Linked DNA regions of Homo sapiens: all the other regions are linked to region 1. The links are contacts of gene promoters, found by promoter capture Hi-C in human tissues and cell types (Jung and others, 2019). All regions are on one chromosome and are shown on one strand. Each heading gives the region's core, a stretch centred on a gene start or on the middle of the fragment in contact. The rest is flanking DNA. Distances are from core to core; before and after follow the strand shown.

What was found. The method cuts DNA at HindIII sites, captures the fragments that hold promoters and counts their contacts. A contact is called where the count stands out against the background at its distance.
Region 2: a fragment that was not itself captured here is called in contact with the fragment with the promoter of EGR3 in region 1 in 1 of the 25 tissues and cell types used here (pancreas).
Region 3: a fragment that was not itself captured here is called in contact with the fragment with the promoter of EGR3 in region 1 in 1 of the 25 tissues and cell types used here (hippocampus).

The regions. Positions count from the first base shown.
Region 1 is chr8:22,691,969-22,696,469 of GRCh38, forward strand. It overlaps EGR3 (early growth response 3), which reads right to left and starts at 1,512. Exons shown (of 2, transcript NM_004430.3): 1 at 823-1,512. The coding sequence starts at 976. It overlaps LOC105379321 (a long non-coding RNA gene), which reads left to right and starts at 2,889. Exons shown (of 3, transcript XR_001745832.2): 1 at 2,889-3,246; 2 at 3,476-3,564; 3 at 3,973-4,364. RefSeq lists silencers at 1-131, 542-611, 1,474-1,593, 1,538-1,701, 2,584-2,803 and 2 more and enhancers at 1,746-2,391, 2,224-2,333, 2,374-2,473. The HindIII fragment of the contact is 10,174 bases long and covers 1-4,501 here.
Region 2 is chr8:23,076,627-23,081,127 of GRCh38, forward strand. It overlaps the pseudogene TNFRSF10B-AS1. Among named protein-coding and RNA genes, the nearest start is that of TNFRSF10B, 9.8 kb to the left of the region's middle. The HindIII fragment of the contact is 5,632 bases long and covers 1-4,501 here.
Region 3 is chr8:23,052,361-23,056,861 of GRCh38, forward strand. All of the region lies in intron 1 of TNFRSF10B (TNF receptor superfamily member 10b), which reads right to left. Among named protein-coding and RNA genes, the nearest start is that of TNFRSF10B, 14 kb to the right of the region's middle. The HindIII fragment of the contact is 7,269 bases long and covers 1-4,501 here.

The DNA.
Region 1 (4,501 bases), core at 262-2,761:
GCGCTCCGACGCTTTGTCCTCGGAGCGTAGAAGGGTGTCGCCCTCAAAGGGAGCTCTCCCTTCACCTACCCCGGCCCCAGCCTCCTCGGGCATGAAGGAGCTTTAGGCTCTTGCTGGAGGGGAAAATCCTAGCCCCAGCTAGGGAGGGTGGAGAGCGGCGGAAAACCGGCCGGTGTCTCCATGGCGGGAGAGGCCGCCCTTCCCCAGCTCCCCGGCCCCGGGATCGTTCCCCGTGGCAGGCCCTCGCCCCGCGGGTGAACCCCCTCCTTCTCCCCGCCGTCCCCACACCCCCACGGCTTTGCTGAACGCCCCGGAAAGGCAGCGTCGCAGTACCTCTCCCACCGCGGGGACTCCACGCCGCACATGGCTCCATCCCGGGTGGGAGGCTGAGGGAGTAAGGGGGGAGAGCGCGGGTGAAAAAGACGCCGGGCTCCTCCCGGGAAGAGGGCGACAGCACCACGCCTTGCGCGTAGCCCGGCGATCGGGCCCCCTGCGTGGTGAGGGAGAACCCCAGAGCCGCTCGCACCTACCTCCCTCCGGTCGGCGGCTGCCCCCACCCGGGAGAACCGAAGCCTCTACCGTGGCGTCGCCAACCTAGCCTTCTCGATCGAGGAGGGCGGGAGGAGTGGGTGGGAAAAGCAACTCGCCCCCCGCAAAATTCCCAGCGCGCCCCCATCTCTCCATCCATTTATCTATCCACCCATCCACCCATCCATCCATCCATCCATCCATCCATCCATCCATCCATCACCAGGTCGTCCCCTCCTCCTCTTCCTCTCCCCTTCCTTCCTCGCTGCCTCGCCGCCTCCCCGCCGCCCTTACCTGTAGCCATCTGATTGTAATGGACTACCGAGTCGCTGCTGCCGGAGAAGAGGTTGAGCGCGCTGGGGATCTCCTCGGGGTACAGATTGTCAGGCAGTTGGTTTAGCAAACTGCTCATGGTCACCGGCAGCTTCTCGGCGAGTTTGCCGGTCATAGCACTCCCGAGCTGCCGCCGCCGCCGCCACCGCCGCCACCGCCGCCGCTCGCTCCTAACGCAGCTTCCAGGCAAGCGGCATCCGAGAGGCGATCCGTGGTGCAGGGGAAAAGCATGCGAGAGGGAAAGTTCGGGGGGAGGGGGGAGGGAAGAAGGGAAGGGATGGGCCAGGAGAGGGGATCTTCTCTTTTTTGGGGGGCGGGAGAGGGCCCCAGGGGGTAATCCTCTTGGGTGCCTCAGCTGGTGCGGTATGAGGCTGGGTCGTGGGGGGGGTGGGGCGTGTGCGGGGGGTGGGGTGGGGGCTGGGCTGGGGGGGGATCTCGGCTCAAGGGGGTCGGACGCGGCCTCAGTATTGATCTCACAAACAGACACGCGCCCGCCGCCCCCCCGCCCCCCGATCTGCCACCGCCACCGCCACCGCCACCGCCGCCGCCGCCGCCGCCGCCGCCGCCGCCTCTGCCGCCGCTGCCGCCGCTGCTACCACCACCACCAGCCCCGCCGCTTCCTAGCAAGCTCACTGCTGCCCAAAAGCTCCCAGCCAGGGAACTCCACCAGCCTATTTATCTGAGCCCCGGGAAAGCTCCGTGACGTAGCTGCCCATATATGGACAGACAAAGCCCAGCCGAAGGGGCGCGACGTCACAATGGAAGCTCCTCACAATGGAACATTAGAAAGCAGGAAGCGGGCCGCAGCCAACGTGCGGCGCCCGCACCGCTCGCGGCTCTTGAAAAAAAGAGAAGGGGAGAAGAAACAAGAAGAATGCGAGAAGAGAGAGGAAAGAAGGATACAGCTGCATGCAAAGCGCAAAGCGCGTAGCGTGGAGTCGAAACACCAGTAACTCATTGTGTGTGTTTATTTGAGGTTTGCGTTAGGAGAGCGCATTGGGGAGAGGTGGGCGGTGGGGTGGGGTTGTTTGCAAGTGGTCTCCAACACCCCAGCAGTTAGAAAGAGAGTTGAAAACATCTGGCGAAATCCCTTTGCAGCCCGGGAACTGCTGGGGAACCCGGAAGGCGTGCGTTGCGCCCCTGCTACCTCAGCGGCTCCAGCGTTCGGGATCCTATCCGAGATTAAGAGAAAGGGAGTGCTTCCCTTTGTGGGGGGAAGGAGGGGTGCGCGCAGGGTTGGGGGGGTGTTTCAACTTGTCAGAATTCCTTGGTCCAATATCCCAAGAACTTTTGTGCCAACTTCACTCTGATTCGCCGCCCCTGCCCCTCCCTGGGCCCCTGACCCGGCGCTGACTCTAGGCTGAGCGCAGTGGCGAGGAGATTCGGAGCACCCCAGCAGTTGCGCCAAAGACAAGAGCCCCATCCATATGGGGTCGAGGATGTGCGGTTTTCGTGGTGAAGAGGAAAGAATGAAGTTGAAGGGATAGATAAACACGTGCACTGAATCCCCAGTAAATTCCCTAACGGTTCCAAGCAGCCTCTGTGGCCACAGGATGGCAGGAGGGCCCAGCAGGCCCGGGCGCAGTCGCTGTCTACTGCTGCCTGCGAAGGGCCCGCCAGAGTTCCAGAAGGAGGACGCCGAACCCACAGTCTCTGAGCCACTGGGGGCCTCCCCTAGTCTCTGCCCTCCCCCTCGCCTTCCACAGGGCTGTCCCCATTGCTGCCTGCCGGCGCTCCGCAGTCAAGGGCGGCCTGTGTGCCGACCCGGAGCGCTTTCACCTCCCGGAGCGGCAGCAGATCCCGGGGGCGGCTGCTGTGCTCCCTGGGGCCTGCTCCCGAGGCGCGCGCAGCCGGCCCGCGGGCGAGGGGGAGGAGAGGGCGGGAGCATGGGGGTGCGACCCCAAATCACATCGGCTTGGCGGGGGAGGATTCCCTCCTCGGTGGCCGCGTGGGCGCGGTGAATCCCTCGTCCCCTCCTGGGGAGTCGGGGTTGGGGGAACGTGCATTTCTCGGGGGGAGTGGGAGTGTTGACAAGGAAGAAGAGAGGATCCCCGGGCCTCACGCCGTGGGAGGGCCACGCGGGCCGGGGACGTGTGGGAGGAACTCCCGAGCTGCACGTTGTGGTGGAGGTGGATGACAACCTCGCTCCCCTCCCCTCCCCTCCACTCAGTGGAGGGCTGGGGACCGGAGGGCCCGGCCTCCCCCCATCTTCTCCAGTTCTTAGGAAAGGAGGGATTCCCGCCTCCCGCGAGCCCCCTCTCTCCACCCCCGCCGCCTCTCCCGCCAGGCTCCCCACTCCTATACTAGGGAGCCACAGCGCCCCCCGGGCTGTCCTCCGCCAGCGCGGCTCAGGGAGGGAGAGCGCTGCAGCGGTCCCGCGCTCCGGTCAGAATCAGGGCAGGCTGCGCCTCCCGCCCCCGGCTCCCTCCCTTAGGGGGGGCGCGCGGCCGGTCGGGGGGCGTGGGCGGCGGTGTGAGCCGGGCTAGGTGCGGGAGGGGCCCGGGCGGCTGCGGGGAGGGTCGCAGGGCGGCGGGCCAAGCCGGGAAGAGCCATACAAGGAGCGGATCCGGTGACGCGCCGGCCGCGCCCCTTCTCCTTCTCGATTTGGCTGCAGATTCCGGTCCCAAGATTTGCATATTTTGGCATCCAGTGGAAAAGGAAAGAAGAACGGAACCCGCAGCCTTTAAAGGAACCGCACAGGCTGTAGCGTCACCCAGGGAGGCGGTGGGGGTGGGGGTGGGGGCCTGAAAAATTAGCCAGCGGCTCTGGCCTCTGGCCGTAGAGCCCGGCAGCAGGGAGGGCCAGGGAGGGGCGGCAACCAGCGAGCTTCGGGCGCGCCAGTCCCAGACCTGGCCCCTCCAGAGTGCTTCCTGCTGCGCGTGCACCCGGAGGCTGCGGAGGGTCTCCACGGGTTCCTGCCTGGGGCCGGGAGACGCTGTGGGGTCCGCGGTCCTGGGCGAGCTGCAGGCCCGAAGGCTGCAGTGCCCATGTCTCCCCGCGCGAGGCAGAGCTCAGCCTGCGGGGGTGGTGGGAAGGAAGTGAGAGGCCTCCGGGCCGCCCAGCTCAACTCCGGAGGACCCCACCGTGATGCACCCACTTTCCACCTGTCAGGATCTCTCCCCAGGAGGGGCTGCAGAGTGAGGAGCTAGAAGCCCTTATCCTGTTCGACTGGGGCCTGAGTTGGGAAAGGCAGAGGCAGTGGAAGCATTTGGGATCCTTAAGCTTCCAGGGCCCCAGAGGCTGTGGAGTGCAGCCACTCCCAACTGGAGGAGACGGCCTCTCTCCCAACACTTTTCGGCACGCTGGACTTGTTGCTTCCAAGTAGAAGAGCATGGGGCAAGGTTTGCTGACCTGCACCAGGGCTTGCTTACCCGTCAGCAAGATTGGATAGGAGTCTGGGGACACGATTCCTTCCCTCTCCTTTCTACTAGTTCTTTGCATAAAACGGGAGCCTTCAATTCAATTAAAGTCTTCATTAAAGCTTCACTGTGACCTTGGGCAAACGTCTGTTTTTTTTTTCTTAGCCTCAGTTTCCTTGTCTGTAAATTGGGATAATAGTATCTACCCCTTAGGAATAATTAAATTAGATAATCCTCATAGAGTACTTGCCAGTCCCTTAAGCAAGCACCCGATAAACTGC
Region 2 (4,501 bases), core at 710-3,209, 390 kb after region 1:
ATTCATTATACCTCAATAAATTCTTTTTTTTTTTTTTTGTTTGAGATGGAGTCTCACTCTGTCGCCCAGGCTGGAGTGCAGTGGCGCGATCTCGGCTCACTGCAAGCTCCGCCTCCTGGGTTCATGCCATTTTCCTGCCTCACCCTCCTGAGTAGCTGGACTACAGGCGCCCGCCACCATGCCCGGCATTTTTTTTTTTTTTGTATTTTTAGTAGAGACGGGGTTTCATCAGGTTAGCCAGGATGGTCTGGATCTCCTGACCTCGTGATCTGCCCGCCTCAGCCTCCCAAAGTGCTGGGATTACAGGCATGAGCCACCGAGCCCAGCCAATAAATTCATTTTTTAAAAAACTTCAAATAGAATACAAACACTTGAGTGTATACTGTATTCCCTATAGCACTTGCACATAGATCAGGAAATATGTATACATTAAAAGTCAGTATCCAGTTGGGTGCAGTAACTCACGCCTGTAATCCCAGCACTTTAGAAGGCTGAGGTGGGTGGATCACGAGGTCAAGAGATCAAGACTATCCTGGCCAACATGGTGAAACCCCATCTACTAAAAATACAAAAAATTAGCTGGGTGTGGTGGCACAAGCCTGTAGTCCCAGCTACTTGGGAGGCTGAGGTAGGAGAATCACTTGAACCCTGGAGGCGGCGGTTGCAGTGAGCCGAGATCATGCTACTGCACTCCAGCCTGGTAACAGAGCGAGACTCCGTCTCAAGAAAATAAAATAAAATAAAATAAGCCGGTTGCGGTGGCTCACGCCTGTAATCCCAGCACTTTGGGAGGCTGAGGAGGGCAGATCACGAGGTCAGGAGATCGAGACCATCCTGGCTAACACGGTGAAACCCCATCTCTACTAAAAATACAAAAAATTAGCCAGGCTGGTGGCGGGCAATTGTATTTCCAGCTGCTGGGGAGGCTGAGGCAGGAGAATGGCGTGAACTTGGGAGGCGGAGCTTGCAGTGAGCCGAGATCGCGCCACTGCACTCCAGCCTGGGCAACAGAGAGAGACTCCTTCTCAAAAAAAAAAAAAAAAAAAAAAAAAAAAAAAGAAAGGAAAGGCAGTATCCAATTAAAATGGAATCCTAAAAGGTAACTAACATTAAAATGTGCAGGGGAAAAAGGAGCAAAAAAATTAGACTGGACAATCATTGCTTAAATGGTAAACTTACAGGTCTATTTCAACTGTATCAATTATTGCACTAACTGTAAATCCACTGGGCACTACCGTTCAAAGGTAGAAATGGTTGGAAGGGCTGAGAAAGCAAGACTCAACTAGATCTTGTCTATACGAGATGGGACTTAAAAGGAAGACACAGATACTGTCTGTTGAAAGTAAGTGGATGGGAAAAGATACATCATGCAAATCCTAAGGCCAAGAAAACTGCCGTGGCTATCTCAGTATCAGACGTAGTTGATTTTGCTAGCAGTGGACAAGATCCGAGTTACCCTACGTTGATGGCAGCGAATCCATACGGGCCCACAGCAACTTCAGCTCTTCACCTCCTGATAAGAAAGAATTCGACTGAGGGTCATAAGGCAGAAGGAGAGATGGAGGCAAGTTTTAGAGCAATAGTGAGTTTATTAAAAAGCTTTAGAACAGGAAGGAAAGGAAAGAAAAGAAGGAAAGTACAACTTAGAAGATGGCCAAGCAGGTGACTTGAGAAGCCAAGTGTGCAGCCTGAACTTGTGACTTGGGGATTTATAGGTAGGCATACTTCCAGGATTTTGCCTTGCTTCTCCCCACTCCTGAAATCTTGTTAGGAAGTTGCTGATCAGTTTCAGTTGTTTTCTATGTATTAGGAGACTGCCTTTTTCTGGCATCGGCTGTAACCAGTTATTACTTTAGAGAAACAGTTAAAAACCACCTAACCATCACCTGATGTTCGCTCAACCCTCCTAGTGTAAGAAGCGGTGGGGAGCCCTCTCCTGCCCAGCTCATACCTGACTAGCTACACAGGGTAACAATTTTAGGACATAGAATATTATGGGAGATCAAAAAGAACCTTTGCAGTTAAAAAGGTTAATTCATCAGGGAGTATAATAATCACAAATTGTATATGCCTAGTAATACAGCTTAAAAACACTTGAAGCAAAAATGGAATGAAAATGAGATTAAATCAGCTCTTTCTCTGCAATTGATAGAACAATCAAATGAAAACACTAGCAAAGTGGCAAGCAATCTGCAAACTATCAACCACCTTGATTTAATTGACATTTATTTATTTATTTTATTTTATTTTTAGTAGAGACGGGGTTTCACCGTGTTAGCCAGGATGGTCTCCATCTCCTCACCTCGTGATCTGCCCGCCTCAGCCTCCCAAAGTGCTGGGATTACAGGCATGAGCCACCACGCCTGGCCTGGTTCTCAGCCTGAATGTTATTGGTATATAGATATGCTACCAATTTTTATACAATGATTTTGTATCCTGAAATTTTGCTGAAGTTGTTGTCAGTTCCAGTAGCCTTTTTGTGGAGTCTTTACGGTTTTCAAGGTACAGAATTATATTGTCCATTAAGATATATCTTTGACTTCTTCATTTCATATCTGGATGCCTTTTATTTCTTTCTCTTGCCTGAGTGCTCTGGCTAGGACTTCTGGTACTATGTTGAATGGGAGTGGTGAGCATGAGCATCCTTGTCTTGTTCCAGTTCTCAAGGGAAATGCTTCCAACTTTTGCCCATTCAGTATGATGTTGGCTATGGATTTGTCATAGATGGCTCTTATTATTTTAAGGCATGTTCCAATGGGAACTTTCTAATGTGTTTTAATATCCAAGAGAGCAAACACCTCTTCCGTACTTTTTCAAAATTTATTATTTTACCCAGATAAAGCTTATAATTGTAAGATTTCTTCCATTCTCCCCTTCCAAAGAAAATCAGTGGCATTTTTATCAATTTATCTTAAAACTAAAAATTAATCTAGAAATACTTAATATCTTATCAATATTCAGTATTTCCTTATCCATTTTGAAGTCAAGTATTTTATTATAACTGAGTTGTGATTTGTTTTCCTCTTCAGATAAATTTATTCCTATTTCTTTTCATGGCTGTTTGGTATTTTGTAATCGTTATAAGTTGCATAGCCTTGTAATTCTGTTTGCTAATTTATTGCATCTACTATGTTTTTAACATTCCTTCAGACATACATTTATATTTCCATATCATAGTTTCATTCTTAGGGTTGTTTGTTTCTGTTTGTTTGTTTTTGACAGAGTCTGGCTGTGTCGCCCAGGCTGGAGTGCAGTGGTGCAATCTCGGCTCACTGCAACCTCCGCCTCCTGAGTTCAAGCGATTCTCCTGCCTCAGCCTCCCGAGTAACTGGGACTACAGGCATGTGCCACCATGCCTGGCTAGTTTTTTTTTTTTTTTTTTGTATTTTTAGTAGAGACGGGGTTTCACCGTGTTAGCAAGGATGGTCTCAATCTCCTGACCTCGTGATCCACCTGCTTCGGCCTCCCAAAGTGCTGGGATTACAGGCGTGAGCCACTGTGCCTGGTCGGCCCCATTCTTAGGGTTTTTAAGTGACATTGAATATAATGATTATTGTGTCTGCCCACTTCCAAGAATCTTGCCTCATTTTTGTTTTCCATCTTGTTGCACAGGCCAGAAATTTCAGAACCATGTTCAGCTGCGCTTAGGGAAGGCAGGTGTTTGGGTCCTGATTTGATTTCCGGGGAAGGCCTCTAACATGCCACCTTTAGGAATGGTGTTCACTTTTGGTTTCATATAGAAAGAAATTCACATCATCAAGAATGCAGCCTCCTATTCTAAAGGGGTTCCAAAAATTCAGAATTGGTGTTTAATTTCACCAAATGTCTTTTCAGCCTCCATAGAGACTGATGCTTTATTTCCTTATTTAGATTGTTGATATGGTACAGTATTGATGATCAAAGAACTTTTGGAGTCTTGGAATAAATTCTTTTGTTAGATGTTTCCTGAGCGCTCTCATACATAGTCCTCTGTTGAGACTTCTGTTGGTAAAAATTCTGTAATGAAGTGATTCTCTCCTGTGAGGGTGGGTGGAAATTGATGAGATGGGGAAGAAAGGGACTTTCTGGGGTGTGGCAATGTTCTATGTCTTGATCATAGGATTATTACACAGGTGTATACAGTAGTCAAAGTTGGGCAGAACACTTATGAAGTGAGCATTTACTCCCTGTCACTTTTGTTTCAATGAGTCACCAGCACACAGAGCCCAAGAGCTATGCAGGACCAGAGGTTTGTCTCCATCTCCACAGAGACCTGAGAGGGGAAGCTCTGTAGGTCTCTTGCTGGCTGGTGATCGGGGTCAGTACTAGACTGCAGGATTCCTGACTCTGACCAGAGCATTCCCCACTGTGTGTTACAGGAACAGGCAAAAGCTGAAAGGGTCATGGGAGGAGGCTGCTGGTTCCAGTGAATGGCGCTGACCCCACTGAGAGTAAGTGTTTTGTGCCTGGAGATGTAGAAGGAATGGAGGCAATAGGGACGATGTCCTAACTGCTAGCCCCA
Region 3 (4,501 bases), core at 1,159-3,658, 360 kb after region 1:
CTGCAAGCTCCACCTCCCAGGTTCACACCATTCTCCTGCCTCAGCCTCCCGAGTAGGTGGGACTACAGGTGCCCACCACCACGCCTGGCTAATTTTTTGTACTTTTTAGTAGAGACGGGGTTTCACCGTGTCAGCCAGGATGGTCTTGATCTCCTGACCTTGTGATCCGCCCGCCTCAGCCTCCCAAAGTGCTGGGATTACACGCGTGAGCCACCACGCCTGGCCAAGGGTAACTAATTGTTGTCTTATTCAAAGCTTATTTAAAGGTTATATATAAAACAAGGTAAAAGAAACCAGGAAATAAGAGAGATATACAGAAAGTTATAAAAATAAGGAGAATTTTAAAGATTATTGGTAAAAGTATCTTCAAAAATGTAAATAGTTGGTCTAAATTATGCAGGTCAAATACTAGGTTTGCTAAATGCTTTAGGTCATAAAATGCTTCTTTGACTTAAAAAGTGTTCAATTTATTTTGGACTGTTAAATTCTAGATACGGCCTGGGGACATGTGAAATTAGCCATGTCCCCTAGCTATGCAAAAAGTTTTAAAGAAAAGAGAATTTATACAAGAAGGGCTCCTGTATGGTAAATTCTTGTCCTAAAGTAAATTAACTGGTTGTTTAAAGAGAGGGATGTTTAGAACAAGTCAGAAAGTCAAGGCATGTCAGAGATTGTCTGTGTAAGTTGTGAAAGAATTTATGAAAGGAAATTTATGCAAGAAATGTTGTACAATTTAAAGGTGATTAGGCCTCCTAAATGCTTTATAAAATGCCACTATGACTCTTAGCTGTACAACTTGCCTGCTTTGCAGCTAGGTAAGGCCTAGGACACATGGAGCTAGATGCTAGAATAAGTCAGACCTTACCTGCATTTCTGTCTAGGTCGTAGGCTCCATACCTAGTATATAATTAAAATCCCAAATTTACCAAGGTTTTCACCAAAAGAAAAGGTTGCTAAGAATTAACAATGTAATGTGTATTTAAGACTATTGAAAAAACAGTTTACATGCAAGTTGTGTAAGGAAAGTAAAATATACTTTTGGTAAAAAGATTATAAGGAGGCATGAGAATGTGGATATTTTTTACTAGATTAAAAGGTTAAAGGATTGTTTTAAGTTGGATAAAATAAAAATGAAAGTTTAAGCAAGCTGTGGAAGGGTAATTGTAAAGACAATTCTGTGTGTAAATGTATTGGCTAAAATTAAAGGGATATCATCCAGTTTTTCTGTAAATTGAGCATTAAAATAAAAGCACAATGGGTTTCTCTTAGAGCACTAACCTTCTGTTTAACAAAAATTGTAAAGAGTTATGAAAGGTCTATAAAACTCTTACTTTATGGTCAAACATTAAAATTGGGTAAATGTGTCTATAAGGTTTTATTAAAAATTGGATTTAACATTAATAGTACACTAATGTAAAGGTGAAATGTGGCTTATTTGATATAAAATTATACAGGAAGCATTGTCAAACATGAAATGGTGTTTGGCTTTCTTTGGGCTGTATGTGCATAAATATATTATTGGTATGTGTTCCAAAGTTATGGAAGACTCCTATAATTCTGATATATCTTAGTGTATGTTATCATTAATAATTATAATTGTTATGTTAAAATTATTGTGTGCCACAGAGGTAACAGATACCCTTGTCATCAATTGTGTCTTTAACTATGGCTACCCTAAAACCTTTTGTCCTCCATAAATAATTGTTGTCTGTCTTGTTTTGGTCCTCTTTAGAAGGTGGTTTTATAATCAGCTGTAAAGCTCTAACAGGTGCTCTTGAATGCAGGTTTCTGATAACTTTGGAGATTGTGACATCAAAATAGAGGAAAAACGTTGATGACTCTTGAAGAGTTAAAATGTTCATTAATATCAAACAGGACAGGAATTAACTGCATGAACTGAACTAATAGGAGACTGAAGTGATCTTTTTGACTTTCGGCTTAAAATGTTGCTAATCCTTTGTTTTGCTTTTCAGAGGCAAGGAAACTTTTCTTTTGAGCTATTAACACCTTTTAACATTTAAGTACAGTATACTCCTATGAACAAAATTTGGAGCATATTTGTTTCTCTCTACCTGATTTTCTCCAGAATTTCGAAACTGTGAGTATTCTTAAGTTATGGCAATATAGTTATTTGCATAAGTGCAGTAAGAATCTGTTTTCTTTTGTAACAGGACACAATTGGAAAAACTGGTTATTTTACCAAGGCTTTGACTTTGCTCTCCTTTAAGGAATCAAACTTGACTTAGGAAGCCAAGAAAGCCCTTGGAAACTGGCCTCATAATTTGTGTACATAGACCCTGTACAGGGTTTCTGACCTGTGGTAAGTAAAGAATGTCACTTTCTGACAGGCCAGGAACCCCAAGTTATCTTGGAACCTCAAGAAGAGAGGAATTCACCCAACTCATAGGTATTTGATGGTATAAATCCATGGTTGGGCTCGGCTTTAAAAAGGTCTTATCTCAGATTCCTGCTATGGAACAAAGTTCCATCAAAGCCCATTTAAAACGCCTATGTAAAAAATAATTATTCTTGCTGCACGGTATATAAGTAATTAGGCCAAGTATAATAAAGCAAACCAGTCCTACCATGATTTGTCTTTTAATAAAAATGGGAAACAAGAGAGAAAAATTATGTTTCAAAAATTATAGTTACACCTGTTAAATTCTAGTCTTCCTCGATGTTTTTCAGTTTTTATTATTTTCTACAGTTTGGATTAAATTCTAATTTTTCTGGCTGCAAGTCTCAAAATGTTTTCAATTTTTTCCTTTTTCTTTTCCTTTTTCTCCATTTTCCCTAACTGGAAATCACTGAAACCTAAGCTTTGCTTTCTTAAAGCCCTGTGAACTGAAAACTAGGTGTTTCAGCAGGCACTCTCTCTAAGCCCCTAAAATAGACAGTGCTACCGGGAACAAATCAACCTCCTCCACTCCAGTACTGCATTTGGTGCCCCATAACAATGACCCTCTCTCAGCTGAAAGTAGCCAGAAAGATTATGACACCCCATCTCCCTACGATTCTCATGATAAATAAATACACAAGCATGATAGAAATCATGCGCAAATTGACAGTGGGGATTGTAGCAGGCCAGGTTTCACTAATGCAGGCCTCCATCACAACTGTTTCAGTACTAATCAAGTGCTTAAGTTAACTATTAAATGCTTAAAAAAAAAAAAAAAAAAGCCAGTGCCCTTATACAAAGGCTGGAATGTAACAAAAGCCCATCAAGAGTTTTGCTTAGGCCTTTCCTGGGCCTTAAAGCATGACAAAATAATGGAGGAATTCATAACAGGACCCATTTAGGATTAAACAAGTTTTATTGGGGGTTTTGAAGAAACTCCCCAGGCCTCCACAAACAAGGGTATTGGAGGTTTGAAGGAACTCCCCAAACCTCCATGGTTTAGCAGGGTAATCACCCCAGCACCTGGACCCATTTAGATTAAGTAAATTTACTGAGGCTCCACAGGAAGGTCTTCAGGACTCAGACCTTAGTTATAGATTAAAAGAAGTTAATCACTTATGTCTTTAGATGAATGCACACTTACATGTAGACATATAGGTTAGAAAGGATATAAGCTCTGAAACACTTTGTAATTTTGAGTTGGTCTGGCGATAATTTCCAGGCCTTCTCCCTGTAACCAGCTACAGAAATAAAAACTCTTTCTTCCCAGTTCATTGGCATCTCATTAATGGGTGGCAAGAAATAGCAGCCCGACCCTCAGTTTGGTCCAGGAACAGTATGGTTGTTCCTCAAAAAATTAAAAGTAGAATTACCAGATGATCCAGCAATCCCACTTCTGGGTATGTATCCAAAAGAACTGAAAGCAGAGTTTTCATGTTTATAATTTCACTGAAGCACATACTGTCCTTATAGAGTCATCAGCTTTAAAACTATAAATACGATATTACCTTAATGCCCAACTTTGTATTATCTGCCCTACTATAATAAGTAGATTTACTTTGTTTTTTCAGGACTTGTTTTTGCCTGATAAGACTCAGGAATTATGAAATGTGAAGTTAAGTGTGGCTCACGCCTGTAATCCCAGCATTTTGGGAGGCCGAGGCGGGCGATCATTTGAGGGCAGGAGTTTGAGACCAGCCTGACCAACATGGTGAAACCCTGTCTCTACTAAAAATACAAAAATTAGCCGGGCATGGTGGGGCATGCCTGTAATCCCAGCTACTCAGGAGGCTGAGGCAGGAGGATCCCTTGAACCAGGGAGGTGGAGGTTACAATGAGCCAAGATTGTGCCACTGCATTCTAGCCTGGGCAACAGAGCAAGACTCCATCTCAAAAAAAAAAAAAAGAGAACCATATTAATAGCTTCCCACAAGTTTTGATGCATTAAACCTTCATTATATTTTGAAATATTTTTGTATTAGCTTTTAATTTCTCCTTTGAACCATGGATTATTTATAAGTGTGTTGCTTAGCATCCAAATTTGGAGGTCTTTCTAGACATTGTTATCTATTTCCAATTGAATTTCATTGAGATCAGAGAACA